Regions from separate parts of the Homo sapiens genome. Here region 2 is linked to region 1. The links are contacts of gene promoters, found by promoter capture Hi-C in blood cells and fetal thymus (Javierre and others, 2016). All regions are on one chromosome and are shown on one strand. Each heading gives the region's core, a stretch centred on a gene start or on the middle of the fragment in contact. The rest is flanking DNA. Distances are from core to core; before and after follow the strand shown. Region 1 holds the start of SLC27A2 (solute carrier family 27 member 2). Region 2 overlaps SHC4 (SHC adaptor protein 4).

Region 1 (2,917 bases), core at 199-2,698:
CCTGACCTTGTCATCACTTAAGTTACTGTTTCAAGTCTGGCTGAAATGTGGCAGGAGCTAACCACAGAACTGAAAGGGTCACTATTGTGATAGATGCAGTGGGGGCTCACAACGGTCCTGTAGCAGATCCCCAGTATCTTCTCCCTGGGGATCAGGTGGGGTCACCTTTGTTCTGCAGGGAGGGGACAGGATGCTAACAGCAGTTGAGAGCTGGAAGCAACATTGAAGCCTGCCTCATTAGAGAGGAGCAAACCAAGGGACAGAGAGGAGAAGTGACTTTCCCATGATCACACAGCCAGTCAAGCAGCAGAGGTGAGAAGAGCCCCTCTGGATCCACTAGAGTTCGCACTCAAGATCCTCTGCATTTTAATGCAGATGTTATAAGTATTGATTAAGAGCTTGGAATTTGGAGATAGATGGCTGGGCATGAGGCTTCACCTCTCAGGACCTCAGTGGTCTCATCTATAAAAGTCCTATAACAAAGCCTACCCATTGTGAGGATTAAAAACCACACTGCCTGTAGAGTGCTTAACACAGAACCTAGCACATTATCAGCTTCCACAACAGGTGGTCCTAAAAGATCATTATTTGCGATTCAAGGAAACACTGCCAACCTTTTTCTATACCTACAGTTCCGATCTGAACCTCCCTCTGCGAACCCCTTATGCCACGCTGTGGCTCGTCAGTCAAGGCGCCGAGAAGCCCTGGTGCCAGGGCAGGGCGATCCTCGGGGCTCACCTGGCGACACCAGCAGCACCTTCGCCCCGCAGCACTGGAAGCAGTGCAGCAGGGACTTCGCGCGGATGTTGTAATTGAGGCACGCCATGGCACAGCCCAGCTTCACCAGCCCCAGCCACAGCCACACGTAGGCCGGCTCGTTACCCATAAGGAGCGCCACGCAGTCTCCCTGGCGCAGGCCGAGGTGGTCGTGCAGCGCCCGGGCCACTTGATTGCTGCGCCGGTCCACCTGCGCGTAGGTGAGAGTCTCGTCGCGGAAGAGCAGAAAAGGCTTGTGTGGCGTCTGGCGCGCTTTCTCCAGGAACGCCCGCAGGATGGTGCGCGCCGGCCGCCGCTTCCCGTAGCTGCGCACCCTCCGGCCCACGGCGGCCACCTTCAAGAAGTAGCCTATGTCCTGGAAGAAGTATGGGCAGCAGAGGTTCACCAGGAGCGGCAGGAACAGCAGTCCCGCCAGGACTGTGTAGATGGCGGAAAGCATGACGGCTGCGGGGCCCTCTGTCCCAGCGAGGGCAGAGGGTTCACCCCGGGCGTGCAGCGCGGCGACTGGGCGGGCTCCGGGCGGACTGGCGGGCTGCGCCGGGGCGCACGCGGCGGGACGCCGGGCTCGCGTGAGATGAAGGGGAAGACAGAGCTCCTCCGCTGCAGGTACCGCCGCGGGCTCCGGAGCAGGTGTAGTCGTATGCGCGTTGCCGGGGGTTCCGGGCAGGACTGGCCGGCTGAGCCCGCCCCCTTGTGGGGGGCAGCCACCTGCTCTCCCGGCCCTCCCACGCGGTCCTCCCGGGGCTGGGCAGGCTGCCCTGCGGCTCACCAGGAGCCTCGGCCACTTCCCAGCTCGAGTCTGGAGGTCTGGGGTCAAGTCTGGACCTCCTCGCGTTGTGACCGAAGTACTTTACCTCTAGGAGCCACGGTTTCTTTAAATGGTGATGAGACGCGCTTAGCGGACGTTGGGAATATTAAAGGAGATATTGCAGGCGTGGGGCTATTATTTGTTACCACTAATAGAATGGCTTATGGAGATGACACTGTTATTACCGATAAAGTGCCTTATAAATGTCAGACAGTCCTATTATTTATTAATAGCGGGTACCAGGTGCCACTGCCAAACCAGAATCTCATCTCTCCTTCCTGGTCCCAAGGGCTTTCCGCCTGGTCTCTCTTTGTTTCTCAGATTTGCTTCCCAGCCCGACTGCCAGGCGGTCTCCTGTAGCGAAGGCTTCAAGGTTGAACAGAAATGCCTGTGGCAGTCACGTCCAGCTCATCCCAAGCCCTGCCAGGTGAGTGAGGGCAGGACACTCTAACCTAGTCGGCCCTGCCTGGTCGGGGGAGTCCTGATTTCGTGAAGAGCAGTGCTACACCGCACCACCTGAAATCAAGCTTTGACATTATTTTACGATTTTGTTCTGTTAAGTGATCCTGCTGTTCCCTCATGTTGAAAGTTGTCAAGTGTTGTCAGCACAGTTCACACATTTAATAAGTGGCTCTGTCAGAGAATAGTATAGTACAGAGGACATTGAGTAAGTGGTATTGGCATGACTCAAAAACCATTTCTTTTAGAGGAAATGTGAACCTTTCTTTTAATTTGCCTTAGTGCTACTTCTGTACGAAGTGAATGCTCACTACTTGCCACTGAGGAGGGTCAGGATCTAAGTAGTGTTTTATTTTCATCCTCTACTGTCCTCCTGTGTTCCTCTATCTTAATTTGATACGATAAATACAGATAATGCTTATTCCTCCCAGACACGCTGCTAGGAGCTTCCCTATGTTACATTTTGGGAGCCTGAGTTATTTTATACAGGTGGCACTTTCATGCTCATTTACAGACAAGAAAGGGAAGCTTAGGTGAATTGAGACAGCCGGTAAGTAATTCGTGGGTTTTGGAAATGGTATCTGTTTGGTCCCGGGGAACCAACTCTTAGCTTATTCTTAGTAACTATACTATGCTGTCCTCCTATTCTCTAGGTTTCTGTCCATGTCCTCTTTTTTTTTCGGTGTGTGTAAAACACACAAAAATGTTTCACATTCCCTCCAGGCCACCCCCTGCCGTTTTTTAGCCTCCTTTTCGTATCCCTAGTAACTGCGCAAGCAACCTTTCCCTTTTCCTGACTTTTTCATTTCTGATCCAGCTACCTGGTTGCATCATTTCCCTGGGGATGAGCTGGGGGCCTTCATCATCCCTGAG
Region 2 (2,842 bases), core at 142-2,641, 1.4 Mb after region 1:
TCTGAGATAAACAAAAGATGAGGAGTTTGTTAGCACTAGATCTGCCTTTCAAGAAATGCTAAAGTCCTTCAAGTTGAAACAAAAGGATACCAAACAGTAACATGAAAGCATATGAAAGTACAAAGCTTGCTGGTAAAGGTAAATATATAGAAAAACACAGAATACTGTAATATTATAATGGCAGTGTGTAAATAACTTTTAATTCTGGTTATAGAAGTTAAAAGACAAAAATGTGAAAAATAAGTCATATATCACTTAACAATGGGGAAATGTTATGAGAAATACATTGCTAGATGATTTTTTCATTGTGCAAACATTTTTGAATATATGTACACAAACCTAGATAGTATAGCCTACTACACACCTAGGCTATATGGTATAACCTATTGCTTGTAGGTTGCAAACCTATACAGCACGTTAGTGTACTGAATACTGTAGACAATTGTAACACAATGGTAAATATTTGTGTATGTAAACATAGAAAAGGTGCAGTGAAATAGGATATAAAAGATTTGAAATGGTACACCTATGTAGAACATTTACTGTGAATGAAGCTTGCAGGACTGGAAATTGCTCCAGATGAGCCAGCGAGTGAGTGGTGAGCGAATGTAAAGACCTAGGACATTACTGCACACTACTGCACACTTTATAAACACTATGCACTTAGACCACACTAAGTTTATTTTTTTTAATTTTCTTTCTTCAATAATAAATTAACTTGAGTTTACTGTAATTTTTTTACTTTGTAAACATTTAAATTATTTTAATCTTTTGACTTTTTTGTAATAACACTTAGCTTAAAATATAGGTTATAGAGCTGTACAAAAATATCTTCTTTCTTTATATCCTTATTCTATATGGTTTTTCCTATTTTAAAATTTTTTATTTCTATTTTTTACTTTTAAACTTTTTTGTTATTGTTAAAAATAGAGACAGAAACACAGACATTAGGCTAGCACTAGACAGGGGCAGGATCATCAATATCACTGTCTTCTATCTCCACATATTGTTCCACAGTCTTTAAGGAGCAATAACTTGCATGGAGTTGTCATCTCCTATGATAACAATGCCTTATTCTAGAATATCTCCTAAAGGACCTGCTTGAGTCTCTTGAGAAAGTGTCACTATTTTCAGAAATATGACCTTGGCGGTTTGCTTGCTTTGTTTCTTTTTTCATCATAGATTTGCTCGTACGCAGATAATGCAACATGAGCATTCTTTTCTATTAATGAAAACCTTTTGGTGTTGGGGATCCATGTTTTTAGTCTTTTCAAGAAGCTTGTTAAGGTCTGAAAAAGCTTCTGCTAAACTCTTTATTGTTAATTTTTTGGGGGGTTCTTCTTCTTTTTCTTTGCCTGCACTTTCCTTTCCTTTTGCCTCCTCTTCAGCTATGCCTTCCTGTTTCAGTTCCAACAACTCATTAGTCAATTCTTCAGGACAATTGCATTAGGCAATAGGAATTTTTCAGCTTCATTATAAGCTTATGGGATCACCATTGTATATGCAGTCTGTTGTTAACCAAAATGTTATTATGCAACAATAACTATGTAACTATAAAATATGTTAATGAATACACAAAATTTAAAAATGTAATTGGTGACATCAATAACATAAAATTGTGTGTGGAGAAATAACAGTGTAGAGTATTTGTATGTGATTGAAGTTAAGGTGTTATCAGTTTAAAAGAGATTGTTATAGCTATGTTTTATGCGAGCCCCATGGTAATCACAAAGAAAATACTTCTAGAAGATACACAAAACAAAATGATAAAGGAATTAAAGCCTATTCACTATGAAAAATTAATGAAACACAAAGGAAGACAGCAAGAAAGGAGAAACAGGACCAAAAAAAGCTTTAAGACAGAAAACAATAGAATGGTAATAGTTCTTCTCTAGTATTAACTACTTTAAATGTAAATATATTAAATTCTGTAATCAAAAAGCATAGAGTGGCTGAATTGATTAAAAAAAAACAAGCTCCAACTACATGCTATCTATAAGAAACTCACTTTATTTTATTTATTTATTTTTTTGAGACGGAGTCTCGCTCTATTGCCCAGGCTGGAGTGCAGTGGCACAATCTCAGCTCACTACAACCTCCGCCTCCTGGGTTCAAGTGATTCTTCTGCCTCAGCCTCCCAAGTAGCTGGGACCACAGGGGTGCGCCACCATGCCCAGCTAATTTATATATTTTTAGTGGAGACGAGGTTTCACCATGTCCGCCAGTCTGGTCTCAAACTCCTGACCTCAGGTAATCCACCTGCTTGGCCTCCCAAAGTGTTGGGATTATAGGCGTGAGCCACCACGCCTGGCAAGGACTCACTTTAGATTTAAGGACACACGTAGGTTGAAAGTGAAAGTTTAGAAAAAGATATTCCATGAAAATGATAACCAAAAAATGGCAGGAGTGGCCATACTTATATCGGACAAAATAAACTTTAAGTCAAAATATCAAAAGAGACAAAGAAGGACATGATATAATGATAAAAGGATCAATTCTTCAGGAAGATATAATAATTATAAATATATATGCACATCAGGGTACCCAAATATATGAAGCAAACATTGACAGAACTAAAGGGGGAAATAGACAGCAAAACAATAATAGTAGGGGATTTTAATGCTCCACTTTCAATAATGGATAGAACACCAGACAGATCAATGAGGAAAAAAAGAACTTGAACAACACTATGGACCAAGTGGATCTAACATACATATACAGAACATTCCATCCAACAGCAACAGAATACATATTCTTCTCAAGTGCACACAAAACATTCTCCAGAATAGATTATGTTAGATAACAAGACAAGTCTTGACAAATTTAAGAGGCTGACATCATA

Evidence for each region. Contacts are between HindIII fragments. The CHiCAGO score rates a contact against its expected background, and 5 or more counts as called.
Region 2: a contact is called between a fragment that was not itself captured here and the fragment with the promoter of SLC27A2 in region 1, in 1 of 17 cell types (total CD8 T cells). The highest score is 6.8, in total CD8 T cells.

The regions. Positions count from the first base shown.
Region 1 is chr15:50,180,727-50,183,643 of GRCh38, reverse strand. It overlaps SLC27A2 (solute carrier family 27 member 2), which reads right to left and starts at 1,448. Exons shown (of 10, transcript NM_003645.4): 1 at 739-1,448. The coding sequence starts at 1,216. It also overlaps a transcript of ATP8B4 not described here. RefSeq lists silencers at 847-946, 1,217-1,556. The HindIII fragment of the contact is 4,085 bases long and covers 1-2,114 here.
Region 2 is chr15:48,829,109-48,831,950 of GRCh38, reverse strand. All of the region lies in intron 11 of SHC4 (SHC adaptor protein 4), which reads left to right. Among named protein-coding and RNA genes, the nearest start is that of CEP152, 19 kb to the right of the region's middle. The HindIII fragment of the contact is 182 bases long and covers 1,301-1,482 here.